2 separate regions of the Homo sapiens genome follow, and region 1 is linked to region 2. The links are contacts of gene promoters, found by promoter capture Hi-C in human tissues and cell types (Jung and others, 2019). All regions are on one chromosome and are shown on one strand. Each heading gives the region's core, a stretch centred on a gene start or on the middle of the fragment in contact. The rest is flanking DNA. Distances are from core to core; before and after follow the strand shown.

What was found. Contacts are between HindIII fragments. The study calls those that stand out against the background at their distance.
Region 1: a fragment that was not itself captured here is called in contact with the fragment with the promoter of PPIL1 in region 2 in 1 of the 25 tissues and cell types used here (IMR-90 fibroblasts).

What each region holds. Positions count from the first base shown.
Region 1 is chr6:37,282,791-37,289,940 of GRCh38, forward strand. It overlaps TBC1D22B (TBC1 domain family member 22B), which reads left to right. Exons shown (of 13, transcript NM_017772.4): 5 at 92-162; 6 at 1,546-1,674; 7 at 4,217-4,282. Among named protein-coding and RNA genes, the nearest start is that of TMEM217B, 28 kb to the left of the region's middle. RefSeq lists an enhancer at 3,289-3,338 and silencers at 5,000-5,089, 5,130-5,189. The HindIII fragment of the contact is 6,830 bases long and covers 1-5,876 here.
Region 2 is chr6:36,869,810-36,876,711 of GRCh38, forward strand. It overlaps PPIL1 (peptidylprolyl isomerase like 1), which reads right to left and starts at 4,994. Exons shown (of 4, transcript NM_016059.5): 1 at 4,908-4,994; 2 at 1,909-2,063. The coding sequence starts at 4,963. It also overlaps a transcript of C6orf89 not described here. RefSeq lists an enhancer at 4,985-5,214. The HindIII fragment of the contact is 10,323 bases long and covers 2,729-6,902 here.

The sequences.
Region 1 (7,150 bases), core at 1,212-3,711, 410 kb after region 2:
GGATGGAAGGAGACATCAGGCAGTGCTGGTTGCGGTTTGCTTTAGAGCATTTGTGGAGAGTTAACCTAACAAGGCTGTTTTCTATTTACAGATGAACTGAGGAAGTGTAGCTGGCCAGGGGTTCCCAGGGAGGTTCGACCTATAACCTGGAGACTCCTGTCGGTGAGTTCTACCCACTGTGTAGAGAAATGTGAGCCTCACACAGCCCTTCTTGCCTGATGAGGTTAGTCTGGACACATTGGTCTTAACTCCATAGACTTCTCTAGTCCTACTGGATATGACAGAACTATGGGACTATAGTCCTATTTCTGTGCATAAAGAAATACATTCTTGAGAGTTTATTCACACACATGTAGTGGTACACAGACTTGTACCAATAGTCATGGTGTCATGTTCTTAACAGCGAGGAAGAAGAATAGAGTGAGATAGGGTGATCCCAGCACTTGCTTTGAGTAAGCTCCAACGTTCCCTGTGCTTCACTCCTGTTTCAGCCGGAATAACCAAAAGTTGAAACCCACTTTGATCTGTGAAGAGTTGATAAATTGGCCTCCCTTGGAAGCTTTACTAGTCCTGCTTTCACCAAGTACAGAGCACTGTGCCAGCCGCTATGATAGAAACACTTGGGTTTCCTGAGCCTGTAAAATTCATTCATTCATCTAGTGAGGATTTATTGAGAGCCTGCTGTTTGCCAGGCATAGTGCCAGATGCTTTGAGCAGATGCAAAAATGAATAAACCACAGTCCCCACTCTCCAGGCACTCACTGCAGAATGCATTACATAAATGTTTTCAAGAAGAAGGGTCTGTCTCCTGACTGCTCGCCCCCACCTCTACTCTTGCAACCATGCAATCATTGCCTCTGCCACTTCTAATAAGTTTGAATACTATTCAGAGTAGATTTGGTGAGAACGGAAGGGGAACAGAAAATATAAGAATGAGAGTGGGATCTAGACCAGGGATAAGAATGAAAGTTGGCCTGGAGCTTTGGCTAGGCCGGGGGCTGCTGCCAGAAGTTCTGTCTGAGTGTTGTAGCTGTATGTCACAGATTCCATTCAGCTGCTTCCTAAGCTGGTAATTCTGAAAGTTACACTGGAAAAGAATGTAACTGGCACCAACTTACTTGGCACACTGCTGAGATGTGCTGTAGAGGTTGCTATATCCCTGCATTTCTCAGAAGTATGGCCCTGGACACACACAGCCCTCCGAGGCCATGACTTGGGTCCAGCTCCCTCCCACTGACCTACATTCACTGCTGTACTGTGCCAGCTCTGGGAGCTGAGGAGTGCTCACCAGTGGCACAAGCTCCAGCACAGTGCAGGGCCAAGGGAGTAAATAATCCTGGGAAAGCTGGCCTTGCTTCATCTGCTCACATGTGGATCTCATTGAATGAGGAGAGGGCAAAAAATGGGTGGCCAGAACCAAAAAGGGATTTACCCTTGGCAGTTTTCCTTCTTGGTAGTTTCCAAACCACTGCATAGATTAAAATAAAAATTAAGGATTTATCCAACCATTGTCTTTCCCCATCTGACCAGCAGTCTTGTCTATAGGGCTATCTCCCAGCAAACACTGAGAGGAGGAAGTTGACCCTGCAGCGGAAGCGGGAGGAATATTTTGGCTTCATTGAACAGTATTATGACTCTCGAAACGAGGAACATCACCAGGATACCTACAGACAGGTACAGTCACCACCTGCTGCCTCTTTGCTTACCAGTCATATACTTTAGGTATGTCTCATGGTAGTGCTCTCAGGGTACAGGCTTTCCAAGTCTTCAGGCTGTGGTATATTGGTTAGGAGTTAAATTTATCCTCAAAACTGTTTCCCCTCTTTTCATTCAGCAACTCTGATTTTAGCCATTTTAAATAGACAGACTTTTTTGGCACTAGTCAGTGCACTGCTTCTCAAACTTTAATGTACATACAAATCACCTAGGATCTTGATAAGATCTCACCTAGAGATTATGAGAAAATGCAGATTCTGATTTAGCAGGTCTCAGGTAAAGCCTGAAGTTCTGATGTGCTCCCTTGCAATGCTGCTGCTGCTGGTCCACCAACCACACTGTGAGTAGTAAGCGTTATCGAGCATGGAGAGGAAAGACAAGCTTACCTAGCCGTGGTCCAGTCCCTCTGGACTATGACATCAGTATGTCTTCCTGGCAGCTGCACTGCTGTTTTGGCATCTGTGACTGTAGGAGCTGTAGCTTTCAGTAGTCTTGTCAGGGAGTCTTCTGTCATTGCCCATAATGGTCCTCATGGTCTGCGGAAAGGTCTGCTCCCAACATCACATGTGGAGGGAGGAGAAGAGTAGGCCAGGGGTTGCAGAAAGTGGAAGGTGGGCAGCTATTTACAACAAGCCTCAAGAACTGAAGTAGCCTCTGCTGCTGCTGCTGCTGACACAGTCTTTTGCATAGTTAGACTGGGCACTGGGAAATCCCTGAGTTGAAATGGACTATAGTGATGTCTTAGGTAACAGAAGTAAGAACTTTCAGCTTCAGTTACTGAAGGCCAACTCCTTTTGGTCCTTCCCCACTTTTTTTTTTTTTTTTTTTTTTTTTTTGAGATGGAGTCTCACTCTGTCGTCCAGGCTGGAGTGCAGTGGCGTGATCTTGGCTCACTGCAGCCCCCACCTCCTGGATTCAGGTGATTCTCCTGCCTCGGCTTCCTGAGTAGCTGGGATTACAGGCATGTGCCACCAGGCCCGGCTAATTTTTTCTTTATCTTTTTTGAGACCGAGTCTTTTTCTGTCACTTAGGCTGGAGTGCAGTGGCGCAATCTCGGCTTGCTCCAGCCTTTGTCCGCTGGGTTCCAGCGATTCTCCTGCCTCACCCTCCTGGATAGCTGGGATTACAGGCGCACACCACCACACCCAGCTAATTTTTGTAATTTTAGTAGAGATGGGGTTTCGCCATGTTGGCCAGGCTGGTCTTGAACTCCTGGCCTCAGGTGATCCACCCACCTTGGCCTCCCAAAGTGCTGGGATTACAGGTATGAGCCACCATGTAATTTTTGTAATTTTAGTGGAGACGGGGTTTCACCATGTTGGCCAGGCTGGTCTCAAACTCCTGACCTCAAGTGATCCACCCGCCTCAGCCTCCCAAAGTGCTGGGATCACAGGCGTGAGCCATCGCCCTGGCCCTTCCCCGCTTCTTACACATCATGACTTCATAAGCAAGTTCATCTCTGGTTCCCTATTTTAGGACATTTTTGCAGCTTTCTGAGCTCTTCTAGTTCTTAGGAACTGTTGATGAGTAAGATTCTGAAAGATGGGTACCTACTTGGATCATACCTGCTACATACATGCCAGCCCAGAGTGAAACAGACTTCAGAGCAATAAGAAAAAACCCTTAATCTGTGAAGCCTATTGCCATTTGACTTTAGTGGTTTCTTTTGGGAGGTTTCCTCACTGTTTAATAAGCTATTGTTGTCATGGAAACATGTTCCACATGGGCAGGTAGGTATAACTAGATTTTTTTCCTGTGTCAGTCACTTCTTTCTGAAGATAAATTGTGTTTTCTTACTACTTTGATTTCCATTTCTTTTTTTTTTTTGAGACAGAGTCTTGCTCTGTCGCCCAGGCTGGAGTGCAGTGGCCCGATCTCGGCTCACTGCAAGCTCCACCTCCCGGGTTCACACCATTCTCCTGCCTCGGCCTCCCGAGTAGCTGGGACTACAGGCACCCGCCACCACGCCCGGCTAATTTTTTGTATTTTTAGTAGAGACAGGGTTTCACCGTGTTAGCCAGGATGGTCTCGATCTCCTGACCTCATGATCCGCCCGGCTTGGCCTCCCAAAGTGCTGGGATTACAGGCGTGAGCCACCGCACCCAGCCAGATGATTCCCATTTCTTTAAAAAAAAATTGTCAAAAGAACAAACTGGGCCAGGCACGGTGGCTCACACCTGCAATCCCAGCACTTTGGCAGGCCAAGGCGGGTGGGTCACCTGAGGTCAAGAGTTCGAGATCAGCCTGGTCAACATGGTGAAACCCCGTCTCTACTAAAAATGCAAAAATTAGCCAGGCCTGGTGGCAGGTGCCTGTAATCCCAGCTACTTGGGAGGCTGAGGCAGGAGAATCGCTTGAACCCTGGAGGCAGAGGTTGCAGTGAGCTGAGATAGTGCCATTGCACTCCAGCCTGGGGGACAAGAGCGAGACTTCATCTCAAAAAAACAAAAACAAAAAAAAACTGGCATTTGTGTTTTTGGACATGCCTTCTCTTTTTCAGATTCACATTGACATTCCAAGGACGAATCCTCTCATTCCGTTGTTCCAGCAACCACTTGTACAGGAGGTGAGGGAATTACTTAATGTTCTTTGGCGCTTCTCCCCGCATAGTTCTGTGGCACCTGTTTACAGGTTTGCGGCTAATCATAATAGTACCTTATGTTCATATATGCAGCTTTGGTTCCTTCAGAGCATGGTTTCATACATTTTCATTTGATCTTTGTTACAAATCTGTGAGCGGAATAACACTTTGAAAGGCTAAGGAACTTGCTCAGAATTTTGAGGCTACCTGGTGGCAGAATGAAGAACCCACATCTTAGAATTCCTATTCCTGTATTTGCTCTACTTTATCAAGCTGGAAGTAGTGATTTTTTAAATTGTGGTAAAATATACATAATATAAAATTTACTGTGTTAACCATTTTTTAGTGTACAGTTCAGTGGCATTAAGTACAGTCACGTTATTGTATGACCATCATCACCATCCACTTCCAGAACATTTTTCATCTTCCCAAACTGGAACTCTGTATCCATTAAATATTAACTCTCTTCTGCAGCCTCCATTCTATTTGTCTCTAAGAATTTGACTACTCCAGGCAGCTCAAATAAGTGGAATCATACAATATTTGTCCTTCTGTGACTGGCTTATTTCACTTAGCATAATATCTTTAAGGTTCATCCCTGTTGTTGCATGTGTGAATTTCCTTTTTTAAGGCTGAGTAATATTCCGTTGTACATATGTAACACATATTGTTGAGCTGTTCATCTATCAGTGGACACATGGGTTGCTTTCACCTTTTGGCTATTGTGAGTAATGCTGCTGCTAGTATGGGTATGTGAATATCTGTTTGAGTCTCTGTTTTAAATTCTTTTGGGTATATATTTAGAAGTGGGAGTAGTAGTTATATTTTGAGACCTAACAAGTTAATGAAGTACATGGAAGGTGTCAGTGGGGCTATTATGTTTTGACTCAAGCAGTAACTGTAAACTTCTTAAGATTAGGGATTTCCTTTGCAACTTTACAGTAGCCAGGACACTAAGTACTAGTGCTCTTTTAACGGAACTTTCAGTTCTCATAGTAGAGAGGGATGGTGGTTAAAATGCTGAAAATAATTTCTATTTGACTTTGGGTTATATTTATAATTTTGTTTAAATATAGATGTCTCCACTGGTGGGGTCCCTCATGTCTTACCCATAGCATAAAGAAGATTTTGAAGGTAACATCATTATTTTAACTATAAGATTCAGCTCACAGGAAGCTAAAAACCCATTCATGATCCCTTTATCCTCCCATACAGTTTTCCATGGCTCAGCACTGCTTATTCCTCATTTTAACTTGGAGATGTTCAGAGACTTTTCTTTTACCTGTGCATGCTTACTCTGAATTTGGAGATGAGGAAAGTAGTCAGTTTAAAAGGCTTCTCAGCCAGGCGTGATGACTCACTCCTATAATCCCAGCACTTTGGGAGGCCAAGGCCAGAGGGATTGCTTGAGCCCACGAGTTTGAGACCAGCCTGAGCCTAGGAGTTTGAGACCAGTCTGGGTAACATAGCAAGACCCTGTCTCAAAAAAATTACAGAATTAGCCAGGCATGGTGGTGTGTGCCTGTGCTACTGTGCCTGTGCTACTTGGGAGGCTGAGGAGGGAGGATCTCTTGAGCCCAGGTGGTCAAAGCTGCAATGAGCCATGATCGTGCTACTGCACTCCAGCCTGGGTGACAGAGCAAGATCCTGTCTCAAAAAAAAAAAAAAAAAGAGGTTGGGGGGTGGTGGCTTCTTTTAGTAGTGCATCCTGAATACAATATGGGAACTCAAACTTTATTCTCCCCAATTTTTCCTGAATGACCATTTCATCTAGCAGGCTACAGTCATCTTTTAAATTTTTTTTATTTTAACTTTTTAAGAGACAGGGTCTCACTCTGTCACCCAGGCTAGAGTGCAGTGGCATGATCATAGCTCACTGCAACCTCTACTCCCCGGGCTCAAGCAGTCCTCCTGCCTCAGCCTCCCAAGTAGCTGGGGCTGCAATCATGCACCACCACACCTGGCTAATTTTTTTTCTCATAATTTTTTGTAGAGATGGGGTCTTGCTTTGTTGCCCAGGACTGGTCTCGAACCCCTGGCCTCAAGCAATTCTTTCTGCTTCTGCCTCTCAAAATGCTGGAATTACAAGGCGTGAGCCACCATCCAGGCTGGTAAAAATGCCAACCAAGAAGCAAAGAACTAAGTAACACTGAATACGGAAAGGCTTGCTTTGAAAACCTGAAAGATACTTGATAATTGCCTATAGTATGTAAGAATTACCCACACTAGTAGAAGAGACATTGGAAGACCTCCAGCGGTTCTCCTATCCACTCCTCTCTATAAGGCAGGATTATCCCAGACTTTTTCTATAGCGAACATCCCATGGTCTCCCCTGATTACCAGGCTTGGTGCTCTTCAGTTTCCATCTCTTTGACCACTTCACTTGTACCATGTGAGTGTGTCTGTGTTGTTCCACCCTGACTAGAGAGGATGATCACAGGTCTCCTGATTCTGAACAGCTAGCTTCCATGTACTTGGCCATTGTTACAGCCAGGCGCCAAGGATTTGAGTATTTACAAGGGGCTGATCCTATAGAGTAGAAGCCCTTCTAAGTCCTTTGGAAAGACCAACCTGGAGGAGCTTTTTAATAGAGGCATCTAGACAGACCCAGGTCACAAGAAGTGCAAAGAAAGAGAGTGAGGCAGGGAATTATTGAGATTTTCCTGAAAACGATGGTTCTAGCTTTGGCTGTATTTTCAAGATAGAGGGATCATTTAGCAACAGAGAGGAAATAGAGTGTAAGAGCGTTCCCATTAGAGTGTTGGGCCGAATGCAAATGAGGGTGCTATGCCTTTTCCTCAACTACACAAAGCAAATGGGTAGGTCTAGTGAAGGCAGAGAGGCCAGCTCCCT
Region 2 (6,902 bases), core at 3,744-6,243:
GAAGTCAAATATTCTGTTCTATATATATGAAATTAAATGTAATATGTTCTGTTTTAAAAACAATAGCTTATATATCCTATTTTTTTGAAACTACTTCCATTTATCCTGTCATCCCTTAAACCAGACATGATGGGCACCAAAAGTTAACACTGTTCCTTTCTGAAAGATGGGATATTTAGGGATTAGTTAATGATGGTTAGAAATCTTTAGGAGCTATGCTTATGAATGATTTTTCCCCTTTTCTCTGCTTTCTTATATATTCTGTATTTTGAAATGCATCCATATACATTAAAAAAAAAAAAACCCAAAAACCTGAATGCTTCTGACCATAGATGATAAATCATGAGACGATTAAGAATGACAAAAAAGAACAAGACTGAGAAAAGACTCTGCTATAGAGAAAACCAAACTTGTTTAAAGGCAAACGAGCAGAAATTAGCAGAGAAGAAGCAGACTGAGAAGCAAGGGCCCTTGAAATGAGTAAGGGTTCCACCAGTTCACTAATAAACCCCATCTAAATGCCAGTAACTCCCAAATTAATACCTCCATACCAGGTCTTTCCCTGAACCCCATATTCCTATCCAACTACTTACTCATGAGCATAGTCGGCCCTCCCTACATGTGGGTTCTACATTCATGGGTTCAACTAACCGCGACTGAAAACATCTTGGGGGGAAGCATCTGTACTGAACATGTATAGAACTATTTTTCTTGTCATTACTCCCCAAACAATACAGTACAACAACTATTTACATAGTGTTTACATCTTGCCCCTACATCTATTCTCTAAACAGCAGCTAGAGTGATCCTTTTATTTATTTATTTATTTGAGAGGGAGTCTCAATCTGTTACCCAGGCTGGACTGCAGTGGTGCGATCTTGGCTCACTGCAACCTCCATCTCCTGGGTTCAAGCAATTCTTCTGCCTCAGCCTCCCGACTAAGAACCTGAGATTACAGGTGCCCACCAACCCGCCCGGCTAATTTTTGTATTTTAGTAGACAGAGCGTTTCACCATGTTGGTCAGGCTGGTCTTGAACTCCTGACCTCAAATGATCCAACTGCCTCGGGCTCCCAAAGTGCTGGGATTACAGGCGTGAGCCACCGTGCCCAGCCTAGAGTGATCCTTTTAAAGCATAGATCAGATCATGTCTTTCCTTTGCTCAAAACTCTCCAATGACTCACATCACATCTTACTCAGAATAAAACCCAGTCTCTACCATGCCCTATAAGGTATCATATCTTATGATTTCCAGCACAGGTTCCTGCCTCAGGGCCTCTGTGTTTGCTCTTCCCTCCATCCAAAATGTTCTCCCCACAGTTGCAAGGTTCACTTTCTTACTTCATTCAGATCTCTTCTCCAATAATGTCAGAGAGGAGTTCCCTGACTTTTCTACTAAAATTCCATCCCCACACCCTTTTCCTGCTTTATTGAGAGCAATAATTCTGTCTCTTTGTTTATAGGTATCTCCCTAGAGCTTAAAAAAGTATCTGACACAAAACAGGTACTCAGTATTTGTTAAATGAATGAATCGATAAAAGAACCCAGGATTTTATTATTCTCAAAATATTATAAAGTCTTTCCTTCTTATTGATCAGACTACTTGCATCACTATAATTCAGACAAATATTATTTGTTCTTAGTGAGCAGTACATGTAAGTTATGAAAAACTCTACCAAGCCTAGGAGTAAAGGTTGGTTTCTGGTCAATTCCACACATGTGTGTTTGAGGAAGGCAGGCGTTGTCACCAGAATCAACCAACACAGACCTTAGTAAGTGGAAAAGAGAGCTCTGGCTGCCTTATCACCTATTTACGACAGAGACTTCAGAAACTAATGCTGGCTTTAGAAAAAAAGACGAAAAGGAGAAAAAAAAAAGAAAACATAAACTAATGTTGGCTTAACTGTACCTGTCCCTGTTGGGTCACCTCCTTGGATCATGAAGTCTTTGATAATTCTGTGGAATTTTGTGCCATTGTAGTAACCTCGACGAGCCAACTCAGCAAAGTTCTTACAGGTCTTTGGAGCATGCTTCCAGTACAGCTCCAGCACAATGATTCCCATGCTGCAGAGGGAGAGGACAACAGCTCCAGTAAACAAAAAGGTCAGGGCAGACAGGAGTATTATGGAACTGCTCCAGGACTCTTGATTTTCAAGCTTGTAAGTCATGAAATTGTGATAACCACTGGATTTCATGCTCAGCAAAGGAAAACACCACAATGCAAGTAACATAAACACCCATTATCTTTTTTGAGTAAAACACGCAGGTGTTCTGGGTACTTCTTTTCAGCAAAATAACAAGCATGGAGAACTCAAAATTCTAATACTATACATATATACATATGTATATATATATAGCTATATCTGATTATCTGAAACCAATATAACCAACCCCTAAATTAGGAAAAAAATTCTTACACTTAATTTTTAATTTTTTAAAAAAAGAGACATTAAAATATCAGGAGTTCATATTTATTTAGAAGTTTCTGGGTGGGGGTAGGGACTGGGTAGATGGAAAATAGGAAGATGTTTAATGAATACCTTTTAAAAACTTTTGTATTTTTGATCCATGTAAATACATTACCTATTCAAAAAATTTCAATAAAAGGTACAGTTTGTGTTTGTTTGGGAGGGAGTATAACAAAGGCAAAACCTGGTAACTTTGAATCTTTGCACCTACCCAATAGGATGAGTGCTTTTTCCTCACCAGTACTACTAAAAGATAAGGAAGAGGCAAGAGAAAGGACGAGTGCCTTCCCCTCTACTCCAGCACATACCTAGACTTTAAGCTCCAAGGATGTGACAATTTTTTTTTTTTTGAGAAAGGGTCTCCTCTGTCACCCAGGTTACAGTGCAGTGGCACAATCTCAGCTTATCGCAACCTCCACCTCCCGGGCTCAAGTGATCCTCTCACCTCAGCCTCCTGAGTAGCTGGGACTACAGGCATGCATCACCAAGCTCAGCTAATTTGTTGTATTTTTTTGTAGAGATGGGGTTTCACCATGTTGCCCGGGCTTGTCTTGAACTCCTGGGCTCAAGCAATCTACCTGCCTTGGCCTCCCAAAGTGCTGGATTACAGATGTGAGCTATGGCACCTGGCCAGATGTGAGAATTGAGTCAACTCTGTATAGTCTGGATACCCAGTGCCTTGCACAGTGTAAACACTCTATAAGTATATGAGGAGTGTGCTAGAAAATAGCTAACAGCCTTTCTGCCTGAAATTCATCCAATTCATCTTTCACACTGCTCCCATTCAACACAGATTGACAGTTACTCTGTGTGTGGTACTCTTTCCCTCATGAAGCTTACATTCTGGAGGATATTTTCAAAATACAGAAAGTAGCCTTTTGGAAAGACAATCAGGAAGTACGTATACAATTCTGAAATGTGCATACCTCAGTAATTTCAACTTCCAAGTATCCTCTAGGAAAATATACAAAAGTGCCTAAGGATACAATATGTGCAAGGATGTTCATCTCAGTATTTGTCATAGCCAAAAAAAAAGGAAGCAACTTAAATGTCCTTGAAATAGGAAATGCCTAAAATATCAACTATCCATACTATGGGCAGCTACCTGAATTACTGAGTGAAAGAAAACCAAGTTACAGAAAAAACATACATACAGTATGATCATATGATCCCATTTTTTTGTTAAAAAAACATGAGAGAGGTTTATATGTACATAGAAAAAAGTCTGGACAATCATCCAACAAACTGTTGATGGTGTTTTCAGGAAGGAGGTGACTTTCACTTCTTACTCTGTATGTCTACATTGCTTGGATTTAACAATTTATTTTGTAACTTTAAAAAATACCAACAGGAGAATTCAGAAATTACAGGTTGGAGCCTGAAGATGTAGAATTTTGCCATATAAGGTGGGGAAGATGGCCAGGGAGCATGAAATGAACAGCATGAGCAAATAGAGAGAGGACTGACAGAACTCTGCTTTAGCTGAAAGCAGCAATGGGCAAGAACAGAAAGGCAGAGGACCTTGGCTGGTCCCTGGCTGTTGAGGGGAGAATGGCAGGTAGACAAGGGCCAGATGAAAAAAATCACCTTGAATGTCAGGATTAATACGTTTTTACTTTATACTGTTATAGCAGCAAGACGTTATTAAAGGTTTTTTGAGCAGGATCCCTTCCTTGTCCTACTTTGTAAAGATCACTTTGAGCTTTTTCCAAAGAGGCAATGGAATGAATAGAGCTAAAGGATCTAGCAAGGTGAGACGAGCACACCAGGCTCCAAACGAGGTTCTTCCAGTTACTAGCTGTGTGGCTTTGGTCAAGGCTTTAAGCTGTAAATTCCGGCGTTTCCTCCTGCTAATATTGAAAGGGAGAAAGTTAAATAATACCTTCATGATTTGAGTTGCTAAGATTAAACTAAATGAGATGACATACAGCGGGGCATGGCGCCAGCAGGTTGGTTACCACATCACTCTTTGATAGTGGGGAAAATGTGCTTCTTCCTGTATTTTACTGGAATTTGTTTCTACAACTGTATTACTTATCACGTAATGTTTACATGTCTGTCTCTTTCATTATACCGTAAGCTCCTAAAGGCAGGGCTGTCTGTGTTTTATCTACCTCTGTATCCTCAGAACTCATATTCCATATGCCTGGCTTGCGGACTCATTACACGTTTGTTGAATGAATGAATGAATGAATGAGCGGACTGGGGGAAGGAGGACAATCAGGCAGCTATTGCTGAGACCTCAGCACAAGACCCCGCGGAGCTTGGACGCGGGCGATGGCGGTCCCCTCTCAACCCTCTGGGGGCCGTCTCGGCCGCTGCTCCACGCCCCTCCACGTGGAGGCCGGCCTCCCGGAGGAACGCGCCAGGAACGCAGACCCGTGGTGAGGCCCGGGCTCCGCGTCTCCTCTGCCAGCCCCAGACGCCCGAACCCCCTCACCTGGTCTCCAAGTAAACGTTGGGTGGCTGCCAGGAATCTGGGGGAATTGCCGCCATAGCGAAGCCGGCGGCGGAATGCTTGTCTAGTAATTGCTACTTCCGGCGTCGATTAGCTGGGGACCCGTCGCTGCTGCACACTTCCGGTCCGTTCAACCCTTTCGATACCAGGATTTGGGTGGCCAAGACAAGGAAGAGGACGGTCCCTTCTTCCAATGCCGGGAAGCTGGGGTGGGAGACGAGAAGAAGCTGGGCTCAAGAACAGAGGAAAATGCAAACTTCATTCGCGGTGGTCTCCAAGTGGCGATACCGCGCCACTCTGGGCGATCTGATTGGTTCGTTTAGGCATGGAAGGCGGGAACAACCAGAAAAGCTGCGCTCTGGTTGGAGTTATGTCCTAATATTAAATTCGAAGAATTTCTTAGTCTCACAATTGGGCAGGGACGGGAAGGGGAGGCAGAGAATGAAAGAGGGTAGTTTAGAGATGCCAGTAAAGAATTTTTGTAAGGCGCTGTACGATGTACACAGTGCTTGCACTTTCTTATCTCATCTACTCCACAAAACAATTCTATAAGTAGATAGTATTATTACCATTTTTCAGATCTGAAAATAGACTCGGCAGTTAATACTTGTTTTTCCATAGTCATAAAGCAAATCTGAGCCTGCAGAATCCAAAGACGAGGAGTCTGAGGAGAAAAGAGAGGGAAGGGGCAGGAAGAAAATAGGAGATAAAGAAAGGAAGAGACAGGAGAAAACAGGACAAACGGATCAGAGCAAGAACAAGGCTTAACATTGGCTGGGATAGATGGTACCTGAAAGTTGTTAGGAGGGTTTGCGCAGGGCGCGAGGAACAGAAGCAAATTAGAGGAGCTATAATGTTTGGAGGGAGGACAAAAATGAAATAGAGTACCTAAACTTAACGCTGTAAATGCTTTGCACACCACTTAATAATGATGGTTGAATGTTTACCATGTGCCAGGCATCAAGCTAAGCATTTTATTGCGTATTTTCACGCTTAATCTTCAAAATCCCACAAGGTAGATATTACTATTCCCATTTTACTTTGAGGAAGCTGAGCCTTACAGATTAAATAACTTGCTTAAAGTACTACAGCTGGTGCACTTGTGCTCTTAACGACAGTTCAACTGTAATGTCCCTAATTGTCAACAAGGAATAAGGATGTACAAGGTTGTAAAGATAAACTAGACAGCTCCTTGAGAGAGGAGCTGGGCCTCCTTCATCTTTGTGCTCTTCTTGCACAGTACAGAGCACAGGGTGCTCAGCTTTGCTGAATGAATAATGAACGGAACACTACATTTTAAACTGATAAATGCTAAAGTATAATTTTTACACCTCCTGCAGTTTCAAGTTCATGCCCACCTTGTGGCCCTTGAGCTGGATGAAAAAGTCTTAATCCTTGGTCTGTTTAGTCTGTTGTTAAGTTGCCTTTCTCTGGACTTTATGTAGTTCTTTACTGTGTATCTCGGGAGTCATGTGCCATTCCCAGGCTCCAATGTCTGAATATTGAAAAGCCACCCCCAAGATCATGATCACTTTCTTCCTAAATCTTTTACTGCAGCTCCTACCAGTCACTTGGCACTGAGGAGACAGAGATGAGTCTCACACACACAGTGCCCTGCCCTAAAGAAACTCACATTCTAGGAGAGATGGGCAACTAAATACGTAGCTGTAGGAGCGTGGAATGAGGACTGTAATAAGAAGCACACAGTAGGTTGGGTGCAGTGGCTGACACCTGTAATCTGGCACTTTCGGAGGCCGAGGCGGGCAGATCATCTGAGGTCAGGAGTTCAAGACCAACCTGACCAACATGGTGAAACCCTGTCTCTACTAAAAATACAAAATAAGCTGGGCATAGTGGTGCATGCCTGTAATCCCTGCTACTTCGGAGGCTGAGGCAGGAGAATCACTTGAACACGGAAGGTGGAGGCTGCAGTGAGCAGAGATTTTGCCTTTGCACTCCACCCTGCACAACAAAAGT